Linked DNA regions of Homo sapiens: regions 1, 2 and 4 are each linked to region 3. Evidence: promoter capture Hi-C in 16 types of primary human blood cells and fetal thymus (Javierre and others, 2016). All regions are on one chromosome and are shown on one strand. Each heading gives the region's core, a stretch centred on a gene start or on the middle of the fragment in contact. The rest is flanking DNA. Distances are from core to core; before and after follow the strand shown. Region 1 has its middle 120 kb from the start of LINC02358. Region 2 has its middle 120 kb from the start of KDR. Region 3 holds the start of TMEM165 (transmembrane protein 165). Region 4 overlaps EXOC1 (exocyst complex component 1).

Region 1 (3,171 bases), core at 147-2,646, 430 kb before region 3:
CTGGTAACCATATCAATAGATCCTGAAGAATAACCTTACCACCTGTGTCCAGGCCATAGGAGAACTGGCTAAACACTGGAGGTTCTGGGAGCAAAATTGCCCACATTGAACTTTTATTGGTGTTCATATTTGTATTAAGCACCTGCTCGTATACCAGGAAGTTCAGTAAGTATGAGTAAACCTCACTTAATCCTTACAAGTACCCTTTAAGTTGGGACTATGAGTATATATATACCCCAATCTGTAGATGAGAATACAGGTTTAGCAATGTAAATAATTGTGTCAAAATAATGAACTGAGCCAGGTTCGAACCGAGGTGAATATGACCCTAATCTCATATTCTTCCAAATCTCATATTCCTAACCACCTTTTCCCTGCAAGAGAAATTGTGAGACATGATCTTCCATTGAGGACTGTGTATGTAATTTCTTTCAATTTTATAGCATAAATCATATTTTGAAGGCCACATGACTCTTGCTAATTAGGATCAGGTAATTTTGTCCAACATTACACATGGGATTAATTATCCTGAGATGAAAAGAACTTCCACCCTCCACAACTGATTCAATACTGTTCCAAATGGTTGACCCAATCCCAGCTAAACCATTTGCTCTACTAGCCCCTCTAAGAATTATTCATTCCTCAGCATAGGCATTACATGTGGTTGGCTCCTTTTTCAAAAAGATCAGCCCTTCATCTTCCCCAAATCATGGGCCCATCGGTTCTCTGGAAAATTATTCCAAACTCCACAACACTTTTTCTCTTTTTTTTTTTTTATTAATTTTCTTTATTGTCTGTTTTCTTTTTTTATATACACTTTAACTTTTAGGGTACATGTGCACAATGTGCAGGTTTGTTACATATGTATACATGTGCCATGTTGGTGTGCTGCACACAGTAACTCCTCAGTTAACATTAGGTATATCTCCAAATGCTATCCCTCTCCCCTCCCCCCACCCCACAACAGTCCCCAGAGTGTGATGTTCCCCTTCCTGTGTCCATGTGTTCTCATTGTTCAGTTCCCACCTATGAGTGAGAACATGCAGTGTTTGGTTTTTTGTCCTTGCGATAGTTTACTGAGAATGATGATTTCCAATTTCATCCATGTCCCTACAAAGGATATGAACTCACCATTTTTTATGGCTGCATAGTATTCCATGGTGTATATGTGCCACATTTTCTTAATCCAGTCTATCGTTGTTGGACATTTGGGTTGGTTCCAAGTCTTTCCTATTGTGAATAGGGCCGCAATAAACATACGTGTGCATGTGTCTTTATAGCAGCATGTTTTATAGTCCTTTGGGTATATACCCAGTAATGGGATGGCTGGGTCAAATGGTATTTCTAGTTCTAGATCCCTGAGGAATCGCCACACTGACTTCCACAATGGTTGAACTAGTTTACAGTCCCACCAACAGTGTAAAAGTGTTCCTATTTCTCCACATCCTCTCCAGCACCTGTTGTTTCCTGACTTCTTAATGATCGCCATTCTAACTGGTGTGAGATGGTATCTCATTGTGGTTTTGATTTGCATTTCTCTGATGGCCAGTGATGATGAGCATTTTTTCATGTGTCTTTTGGCTGCATAAATGTCTTCTTTTGAGAAGTGTCTGTTCATATCCTTCGCCCACTTTTTGATGGGGTTGTTTGTTTTTTCTTGTAAATTTGTTTGAGTTCATTGTAGATTCTGGATATTAGCCCTTTGTCAGATGAGTAGATTGCAAAAATTTTCTCCCATTCTGTAGGCTGCCTGTTCACTCTGGTGGTAGTTTCTTTTGCTGTGCAGAAGCTCTTTAGTTTAATTAGATCCATTTGTCAATTTTGGCTTTTGCACAACACTTTTTTTCTAATGACTATAGGAACAGATTGAATATGAGAGCTAAGCAGATTTTAAATATAAGTATGTTTTTTACTAAAGCCCTTTGTATCAGTTAAGAATTGTGTTAAGCTCCAAGTAAAAGAGGTCCCCCAAAACATAGGTTTAAACAAATTAGGAAACTTATTTTTCTCAGGTAATGAAGAATGTGGACATGGGAGGTCCAGGGTGGGAATGGTAGCTCACAATTCACCAGGGACTTAGACTCCTTTTACATTTCTGTTCAGTCATCTTTAAAGGTTGTCTAGTGGCCTCAAGATGGCTGCCAGAGTTCTAGCCATCCTGTTCAAGCTCCAGACAAGAAGAATGAGAAGAGCAGTGGACAAAACAGTATGCCATGGGAGTCAACCCCTTTTTAAGGAGCTTCTCTAGGAAGTTCCTCTCAACAACTTCCACTTCTATTTCACCAGCCAAAACTTGGCTACTTCTATCTGCAAAGGAGTTTGGGAAATTTAGAGGATTTTTCTTTGTTTCATTATTTTCACACATCAGATAGATATATGGCTACTCCTTCCCCAGACAGGGTTCTATTAGGTAGGGAGAAAGTGAGAGGATAGGCTGGCCTGGCTAGTTAAAATAAGGCTGCTTTCTGAGTCAGATTCAGAGGAACTGGACTCTCAGAGGCACAGAAGCAGGCTCTGCCAGGCCTCAGGCTTCTACGTCAGGTAGGAAAATAACTTTGGTCCTGTGTCACATCTTCAGGGTTGGAGAAGGAGCATCTCTCTTTAAGGAACAAGAAGACTACATTTTTTAATTTCAGGGAATGATTGGGAACTTATCCCAGGTCAGCAGTGGGTCTGGGAAGGAGATCTGGACATTCTTCAAAGGAGATTTTGCCTTTTCCAGACTTCCCATTTCTATTCCTCTTGCATTCCTGTGCTCTAGTCCCTGCTGCAAATGAGAAACTTCACTTTTTTTTTTTTTTTAACAGGTCAGGGTGTTTGGGGATGTTGGTACAGAAGAAGAACAGTTATGTCTGCCTCAAATTTACCAGACAGAGCAGGTAACCCAATTTTTAAAGGCAGATGTATCCTAACCATCATCAAAGCTTCATTCACCTTTGAATTTAAGGTTTTGCCCTCAAACCATGATTTTTGTTATCCTGCTAAGATCTTACATGGAGTTGTTAGTTTAATTAAATTCAGCTATTTCAAGATGGAATACTTGACTGAACATAGGAGAAAGCTGAGAACTACAAAGACAAAAATGAATCCTGCCCTATCATCTTATTTAGAAAAACTTTTTCTTATATTCATTCCTTCATTTCATTCAACTGTATTGATCAAGCAGCTCCA
Region 2 (3,092 bases), core at 521-3,020, 390 kb before region 3:
CATATTCCCAGAAGACCTAGCACACATGTGCTTCACACATGAAGTCATTGGATACATACATCAAACTGAATCAGCTTCAGGTCTGCCGAGGCATAGGTGATGGATTCCCTAAAGCGGATGGACACAATGGCAAAACACTGTTCAGAGAGGTTCCCTGACCTATCCAAGGTTTCACTTAATAGATATATTATGAAGGAGATAACTTTATAAAAACCATTACTTCATTTGCTAAAGCCCTTCATGAGACAACTCCTTCAGAACTAAAAGCAAAATACTTCACTTGCTGAGGAAAAGGTATTTTTCCATTTGTGCATAATAAATGACCATGTTTCCTTCTCTGCTTTGACCACGAGGAAGCTCTGAGGCAAATTTACTGCTCAGTCATTGCAAGTGTGTAAGATCTTTTGGGTTTGCTCATCTCCCTTCCGCACTTGTTCTAATTTCATTTATCTGGTGCTGCTACTTAATTTTAAATTTGTATTTTATTATATGTATTTTCTATATATTCTTTGTAGAACAAGATATGTGATATTAATAGGCCAGTTATGGCTCAACTAATAACAGTTTGAAAGTACATGGATACCTGAGATAACAGTGCTGAGTGACTAGAACAAGGGGTTACATGCTTGGTTCTTATAAGGTAGGAGGCTTTGTTTTTCTAAAATGTAACTCCTGCTCTGGAGATGCTACTGGTGGTGAGAGCACTTCCCTGGGCTTCTGCCCTGACCAGTGATGAAATATTTACCCTCAGCAGGTTCTCTCTTCTAGTATAGGGTAGTGTTGCTTACTGTTCAACTCCACTTGGATTAATCAGTTAATGTGTGAAATCATTTTGAATATGAAAAGTTCTGGGTCAGGTACGCAGCAGTCATTGCTGTCTGAGTTACTATGCTAATCCTTGCCTTTGTGAGAGAGGAGTGTGCTTAAAGTCCTTCTATGAAACCATTCCTCTCAGGAGTCTGTCAAAGTCACCAGAAAAATAGGTAGATCCAGCCATTGGCAAAGAGGGACCCAACCTGGGCATCTGAATATGACTCAGAGAAACCAAACACGAGACATAGAAAGAGGTTGCAGGCAAGAATCTAGGGCTTGCAGGGGCACCAGACCATCAAGACTTCCAGGAGAAATTACGGAAACATCTGCAAGGTTAAGTCAGGAAGTCCAGGGGCTACTTCCCAGAGAGGGAAGTGCCTTTCTTGGGACTGCTGCTACAGAGCTGAAACGGTGCATAACCTGGGGCCAAGGAGGCTGATTGAAGATGAGGGATTAGACTCCAAGAAGGATCAAGAATCCATCAACTCAACTCCACTCCTTCAGCCACACCGAGGTGAGGACAAGCCTTGGGCTTTGGGACACAGTGAACTCTGCATTAACCAGGCCAAGAAGTGGCTCCATGTTAACTGCATTACAAGAAAGAATTTATGTTCAGCAAATCTCTTGACCACATTTGCTTCTGTTCCCTCCCAGCCTTTGCCAACCATGGCACTACAAAGAGCTAATCATCAAAAGATAAAGCAAATAGGTTTCATTGCTGAGTGATAATCAAACAGTTGCCAAAACTTTGCAATCTTAGTGCTTGGAAAATACAAGGTCTACAAAACCTCAGCTGAAGAACAGATAATTAGCCAGAAAAATCTAGGAGGGGCTTGGACTGCTTTGGGCATGAAAGGAATGTCTTTCTTCAACTCCACAGGGATGTGGTGAGGTAGGAGTGGGGTGGGGGCTGGACTATTGGATACTCACTGCAAGTTCTGCCAGCTTGGCAACACATCTCCTGCTTCTCTGGGCTGGCTCACCCAGCACAAATTCAACCCTTTGCTTGTTGCATATCCTTTTACATTTCCCCAGAGGGAGCTCACTCTCAGCCTTCCCACTTAGAATCACCACCCTTGGGACCCCAACACTTTAGATCCGTCCAGCATTGTTCAGCCTGACAGATGACCCAGCCTCCTGGTTTTCTTAAAATAACAAGAGAACATTTGCTCTCTGGAAATACAAGGTCGCATCCAAATTTAAAGAAGAAAAATAGGAGAGGAAAGCATTCAAACAAAACTCTTGGAATTGGGCTCCTGTGGTAACATTTGGAATAAAGGAAAACAGGAAAGCAATTGCAATATTAAAAATAGATGATTTCCTGCATGTAAATTCTTTGCTGACCTTGTTGATTGCAGCATGGTCCATGTTTGCTGGCTTGCCACCTTCTGACTTCATGAGAGTTCATACCAAGGGACAGTTCTCAGGGCTCAGAATTCAACCCCTAGTTAAAAAGCATTTGTTTACAAATCTGCCTATTGGCATCAACCCTTTTCTCTTTAATCCTTGATGCTTATCGGAGATTAATTATTTATCCTTTGTTTTATTCCTATGTGTCCAGGAGGAACGTACTGAATATCAAGAATACTTCAGAGGATCCTGGAGCAGACATGGTACCTCCACATAACACAGTGCACCTTGATGATATTAGCATCCACTGCCAATAAGCATAAAAGTAATCATGGGAAAGGTAATGCATTATCTGGCTGAAAGAGCATTCATCCCTCAATGGATACTTAATCAGCAGCCAGGCACTACTCTATGCTCTGGGGTCACACCCATGCCCTCAGCAACTTTATATGCTAGTTGGGTGAAATAAACAATAAACATAGTAAATAAGTTAGATAATATGCTATAAGATAGGTATATAAAAAAAGAAAAAGTAAAGTGGAGTAGGGGGATTGGGCAAGTAAGGTATTAAATACAATAGAGAAGGCCTTAGGAAAAAGGTAAAATTTGAGCACAGGTTTACTGTGAAGGGAGTAGCTAGGCAGATATGTTGATAAAGTTTCCAGCCTGGCACAGCAGCCTGAGCAAAGGCCCTGAGGCAGGACCATGATAATTAGTTGACAGCAAGATCTGGTGTCTCTCTCTTTCACTGTCAGGGAGGTCTGAGACAAGGCAGCAGTTAGTTATTCTCTGTGGGTAGCAGAGAGAGTGGCTTTGAAGCAGAAGGAGCAATGATGAAATGGTTTCGTTGATGAAAAAATGGGCAGCTTTTGGAATTGGGGTGAGCCGGAGTGAAAGGAAAGGTTAAAGGCTCAACAAAAGGGAACAGC
Region 3 (3,108 bases), core at 63-2,562:
CCTGAGGTCTGGAGTTCGAGACCAGCCTGACCAACATGGAGAAACCCCATCTCTACTAAAATTACAAAGTTAGCCGCGTATGGTGGAGCATGCCTGTAATCCCAGCTACTCGGGAAGCTGAGGCAGGAGAATCTCTTGTACCCGGGAGGAGGAGGTTGCAGTGGGCCGAGATCTCACCATTGCACTCCATCCTGAGCAACAAGCGCGAAACTCCGTCTCAAAAACAAAAACAAAGAAAACAACAAAACAAAAAAACAGACGGAAATTTTATTATCCTGTGACAAACACTGTATCTTTGGTGAACTCAAAGTAGGTTTGCCCACTTTCCCACAGATTGTTTTGGTGGATTAATTTTTTGTTTCAGTTAGTGATAAACTTCCTTAGCTCTTTACTGAGTACAGGTTTACTGTATGTAAATATGTATAATATTAGATTAGTGCCTGGCACATGGTTAGCACTATCGATTTTTATTAGGGACTAGGTCTCAAACTTATGGTAATTAAGTAGCTCACTTTTTCTTTTGGGAAGACGTAAAAATATTCTCAAGCCTAACTCAAGACCATCCTTTCCTGTCTTCTAGTCTTGCCCACTCAAAGCTCCATCCTGCAAAAGTCTTAAACAGTCCATTTCAAAAGCCCAGCATTTTTAAAGGGTCTAAGGAATAGCACAAAACAAGATGCACCCAAAACGTCAAGGCCATACTGGACAAGGGCAACGTTAGCCATTTTTGGTCTGGGGTAATTATAGGCAGTATCTTAAAACAAGGCTTGAAAAATGTCATGTTATTTCCAAATCCCATTTCAGAACTTTAAAAAAAAAATAGCATTTTGAGCTCCTAAGAACGTTTTTGGCGGTAGGTGGCCACATGGAGGGTGGCACAGAGGCTCGGCGGGGGAGAGCGGAACAGAGCTGGGCGTGGCAGTGCCTGCGAGTCAGCGCCACGTAACCAGAGGCGCTCGCACTAATTTGACCTCTAAGAGAGACTAAGCGCAGGGAACAGCGGGTGCGGACATTACGGCGGAAGGCTCTGGAGGAAGCAGAAGTGAAGGACCTCGCAGTCCTGGGACGGTGGGGCACAGAGAGAGAAAGGGAGCCCCGGGCGCGGCGCGGTGAGGATGCGAGCAGAGGAAGGACACGCGGCGCCGGGTACCTGCCGGGAGCGCCGGATCCAATGGGAGGAGGGCCCGCGCCGCACCTCAACCTGGCAGAGGACGTCACGACGCCAAGGCGGTCGCCGGGCCAATGGGAGGCCGTCGCGGGCAGGGACGGGGCCGGGAGGAGTCGGGGCTGGGCCGCGCCGAGGCAGCTGGCTGACTCCAGTTTAGCCGCCGCCGGAGAGGACGGGCGCCGAGCCGGGGCTGCGGACTTCGGCCTGCCCCTCACCTCACTCCCGCTGCTTGCACCTCCCGGATGGTGCTGACTGCTCCCTAAGCGGCGGCGGCGGCGAGTCGTGAGGACGCGCCGCGGAGGCTGTTCGGGGTCGAGGCTTCCCGTCGCCGGCACTTCCTCTTGCGGCGCCCGTGCGCGGCCGGCCCGGCAGGCGGGATGGCGGCCGCGGCTCCAGGGAACGGCCGCGCATCGGCGCCCCGGCTGCTTCTGCTCTTTCTGGTTCCGCTGCTGTGGGCCCCGGCTGCGGTCCGGGCCGGCCCAGATGAAGACCTTAGCCACCGGAACAAAGAACCGCCGGCGCCGGCCCAGCAGCTGCAGCCGCAGCCTGTGGCTGTGCAGGGCCCCGAGCCGGCCCGGGTCGAGGTGAGCGGGCCGGGATGGGGCGAGCGAGGCTGCAGGGCCGGCTGCGCCGAGTACCAGGCTCCAGGCCTTTGAAAGCGCCGCACTCCGCCGGCCTCGGCTGGGGGAGGGGAGCCCGGCCCCTGCTCCCGGGGTGGAGGGCGGTCGGCTGCGCTGTTTTCCGGTGAGGCCTGGTCTTGCCCGCTCCTTTAGGGAAAGGGAGAGGGAGAGTCCAAGAGGAGCCCGCTATAAACGTTGATCTCCGGAGGGCCAAGATGCTGCTCCGGGATGGGCGTTTTATTGATCAGATGTGTCTTAGAGTAGCTAGAAAGACTCATCCCTACCAAAAAGTTTTTAACAGAAGGCTGCTAGGAGGCTTTTTGTATTCCCTGAGGATCATCACATCGGCCATTTCATTGTTGAAATAGCTTATGCCAAACTGCTTACCCAAATTCAACTTGGCACTGCCTGTGCTTTTTGCCAAATATGGATTATGAACCATGACTCTCACTTTTTAAAAATGTGCTTTGGCTAGCAGGAAGTAGCCTTTAGGAACGCAGAGGAATTAGTCTCCGGCAGTACAGCGTGCTGCAGCGATGTGGGATGCCAAAACTACATTTATAAGTAAAACAGAATCCTGTATTTTGTCCTTCCCTGAATAGATACTAGAAATCAACTTTTTAATCTGTTAATAGAATTAGTCCTTAGTCACTTGGCAGCGTTTTAACATTTCTCCCTTCTCCCAGTCGTGGGCTTTGTCGTCATTTCCAGTATCTGCTCCCTGAATCCCGGCCAGTGTGGCACTCAAACCCCCACTCCCACCCAGGCCACATCCAGCCCATCTCCACGTAACTAATCTTCCCGAACATTGAATTCTGCCATCTTGTCAGAAGTCGTCGGTGAGTTGCCTCCACTAATTTCAGTCCAGCCTTTTTAGGAGAGTGATGTTCAGGTTTCTTCTGATCTGGCTCCAGCTCACCTCCAGGCTTTTTAGCCACCGCTTTCTTGCTCATATGCTAAAGGGATATGCTCATCTGCAAAAAAGAATGTGCTTCAAGAGCCCTTTGGGACAGGCTTTGTGCTCTCTTGCCAGTTCCTCCCTAACACAAGACCTTTTCAAAGAAAAAAAAAAAAAGACCTGGAGTTTGAAGCCACGGATCAACTCTTCCCACCTTGGAGAACCAGCAGATACCTACTCTCTGTGAAGACTTCCCTAAAATTTCTTGGTTAAGGGTGATTTATCTGACCCTTTCCTTTCCTTTCCTTTCCTCTCCTTTCTCCTTTTTCCTTTCCTCTCCTTTCTCCTTTTTCCTTTCCATTCCTTTCATTTCTCCTTTCCTTTCCTTTTTCCTTTCCTTTCTCCCTTCCTTTCCTTTTTCC
Region 4 (3,133 bases), core at 130-2,629, 470 kb after region 3:
ATTCACAAGCTTGCTGTTCTGTCTTCAAATATTATGCATTTCCAGATGTTATTTATTGTGTAAGGTGATTTTAAACCAGTATATTTCAGGACAGTCATATAGAAAAATACATACCCTACCTGGATCTGCCTCATTAAGAAATACTACCAAAATCAGTGAGAAGAGTATTACTGTTTTTGAAAATGAAGTGTCTAACTTAAAAAAAAAAAGGCATTCAATTTTTCAGGCCATAAAACAAGAGTATAGACACGTTCATGTGTATAAACATTAACCCTAACTGAGATCGATTTTAAGAATACTGAGAAGATCCTTAAGGATCTCATTTTGAAAATCACTTGCTATATACGTCAGTAACTCTTGCTTTGGTTTAGTGGAGTTCAGGGAATAGCTTCATTAATGTCTACAAACTTGTTTTATGGACCTTGAAATTACAGCCTTTAATTCCCATTAAAAAAAAATGTCTCTAAGTTTTGAGTGATGTTAGAAAACAAATAAAAAATTATTACCACCCCAGTTTAAGAGCTCAATAATTAAGTAAGACTATTTTGATTATAAATGGTAGCAGTGGCAACTTGGTAGTTTTTATTGTTGACAATTGAATACGTAAGTTAAATAATGGGGCTCCTCAGCAGAATAAGGTTTGTAAAAGAGGACTTTTCAGCAGTTGAAGTAGATTGAAGTTTTTATTTGGCCTTTTTTTTCATTCTTTTACTTGCAACCAGCTTTTTAAAAAAGAATCTTTGACTTGAATCCTTAAATGCTGGCTTGAACTGTTATTTTGTGTAATTTTTTACTTGCCTCAATCTTGTCCTTTCTAACCATGTTTTGTGACTAATCCTCTGTGAGGGAGTGTCTGGGTAAAGCTTTTGGGCCTTAAGTAACATAACTAGGCTACATGCATGAGTCACAACTGACCTAAATATAATCCCCAGGAAATGATTAGTTTGCCAGGTTTCTCCTCTAAGGGTTAGTTAGTGCTGTTTCTTAAAAGACTAAGAGAAATTAGAAAGATAAATATATTTGTAGTCACTATCAGAAAGTGAATAAGAAAAATGAACACGGCAAATTTAGCTTCTTATGGATCTTTCCACTTGGTAGTTGATTTGGCTGTCTTTTGAACTTTAACATGAAGTTCAAATGAGATATGGGTAGTATTTTAAAAATTTAAGCCTGTTTACTTTTCTACCCAGCTAATATTCTTTGCTTACTTTCCTCTGCTTTTTTCATACTTTTTACTCTCCAGAACTGCCTAAAGTTACAGAAGGTGCGTAACACCTTTTCTTCTTCTATTCCATATGTTTTTATTAGTTGCCTTTGTTATATACCGTTGGTTGTATGTTTTATGAAATGATGTACTGGGACAAATTTATTTTAAAAATCTACATAGTAATAAAATTAATGATAGTATTTATTATTGGCTTTCAAGGACATATCATTAGAAAATACTTCTGAAGCAGTTAATTATAATCATGTAAAATATTTGTTTAAGTCTACTTGTGTAAGGACCTGTACAGAATGATTTGGGCAGTCCCTGCCCCCTAGTGGCTAATAAGCTGTCACACATGACAGTTGAACTTTTTCGCAGTGAATTAAATGGACTCGTTGAAAGGACAAGGAGATCGGTAATATCTCTCTAAAGAACTTATATACTAAAATCTGTAATTGCCTGTACCAAAAGTTTTAGTCTTCTTTTTGTTCTGGGACAAATGAACGTATTTCAGGTCATGCTGAATGTAAATATTCATTTTCCTATAAAATAATGAATACTAAAAGCATCCAGAGTTTGTGGTTTAAATCATGCCCCATTAAGTCTGTGAAATTGCTAACTTTATTTAGAGTGATAAAACAACATCTTAGGAGTTAAAAATGATTTCTTTCATTTTACCTCCTAACCTCAAGCTTTATATACAGTGCTCACATGCTAGTGTATTTCCTCAAAAAAAAAAAAAAAATGAACTGAAACATCTAGAAAGCATTTCAGGTTTGACCTCTTGGTCTTTTGTTATAAAGCATGAAGCCTGTTTAACTTTTTATAATTTCAAACAGCCATGTTGTTGTTGCTCTTACTTAGAGTTATTGAGAAAGCTGTAACTTATCTTTAGAAATGTTATCAATGCATGTGAAATTTTTTTAAGCAAAGAAATGGATAATTCAGTTAATATTCTAGTGACCAAAATAAATTATGGATTATAGATGCATTTTTCATTTTAATTAAAAAGTATTTGGCAAAAATATACATACTGAAGATGAAAGTAACAAAAGTAACAAAAGAAAAATTTCACCTGGGAAAAAAAGGAAAGCAAATTGTTTTTGTGTGTACTGAATTCATAGTCATTGTTTTGTTAGAGCAACAGCCACATCAGGTACGAAAAAATGTTTAGGTTTGTTCCCACCTGTTTTTGTATTTTGTTTTTACATTTTAGCTTAATTGTATTTTGGGAAACTGTGGTGAAAGCCTGTTTTAACATTTGTAAGTTAGTGCATTAGACTGCATGCTTTTTATTTATTTTTTAGAACTTTATTTCATTAACATATTAAATTATTTATAAAAATAAAGTTTGATTTTTTCATATCATTTGAATCATTCTATCCTCTTTTTCAGCTGCTAAATGTGACCTGTGCTTATAACTATACCTACCTATATGTATTATGTTATAGTCTTTTCTACTTTTTTGACTATTTTACTTTGAATTTTTACCTCTTTAAGAATCTGTTCCAAGTGGAGAAAATCAGAGTGTGACAGGAGGTGATGAAGAAGTAGTAGATGAATACCAAGAGTTAAATGCAAGAGAAGAACAGGATATCGAAATAATGATGGAAGGCTGTGAATATGCAATCTCGAATGCGGAAGCCTTTGCAGAAAAATTGTCCAGAGAGCTGCAGGTGCTAGATGGGGTAAGACTTTCCTGAATTCTATGAATAAGTGATGTATAGTGGATTGAGAAGGCTAATGATGTTCATATTATACTACCTCAGCACTTAAGCCTTTATAGTGTGTTATTGCCATCTTTATCTATAAGCACATTACCAGCTGCCATCAGTCTTTTACTGTTCTTGTTCAAAAGATGAACTATTCCTGTTAAGCCAATGAAGACAGTTGGCTGAGATTCTGGATTTGGGGAGGTTCTTGATA

What was found. Contacts are between HindIII fragments. The CHiCAGO score rates a contact against its expected background, and 5 or more counts as called.
Region 1: a fragment that was not itself captured here is called in contact with the fragment with the promoter of TMEM165 in region 3 in 1 of 17 cell types (M1 macrophages); the score reaches 6.0 in M1 macrophages.
Region 2: a fragment that was not itself captured here is called in contact with the fragment with the promoter of TMEM165 in region 3 in 1 of 17 cell types (endothelial precursors); the score reaches 5.2 in endothelial precursors.
Region 4: a contact is called between a fragment that was not itself captured here and the fragment with the promoter of TMEM165 in region 3, in 6 of 17 cell types (total B cells, erythroblasts, naive B cells and 3 more). The highest score is 12.9, in total B cells.

The regions. Positions count from the first base shown.
Region 1 is chr4:54,967,875-54,971,045 of GRCh38, forward strand. No RefSeq gene overlaps it. Among named protein-coding and RNA genes, the nearest start is that of LINC02358, 120 kb to the left of the region's middle. The HindIII fragment of the contact is 3,052 bases long and covers 1-2,922 here.
Region 2 is chr4:55,003,229-55,006,320 of GRCh38, forward strand. No RefSeq gene overlaps it. Among named protein-coding and RNA genes, the nearest start is that of KDR, 120 kb to the right of the region's middle. The HindIII fragment of the contact is 3,743 bases long and covers 1-3,092 here.
Region 3 is chr4:55,394,645-55,397,752 of GRCh38, forward strand. TMEM165 (transmembrane protein 165) reads left to right here and starts at 1,313. Exons shown (of 6, transcript NM_018475.5): 1 at 1,313-1,752. The coding sequence starts at 1,546. RefSeq lists silencers at 1,119-1,318, 1,519-1,988. The HindIII fragment of the contact is 4,477 bases long and covers 1-3,108 here.
Region 4 is chr4:55,865,629-55,868,761 of GRCh38, forward strand. EXOC1 (exocyst complex component 1) reads left to right here. Exons shown (of 19, transcript NM_001024924.2): 5 at 2,708-2,895. Among named protein-coding and RNA genes, the nearest start is that of EXOC1, 14 kb to the left of the region's middle. The HindIII fragment of the contact is 1,036 bases long and covers 862-1,897 here.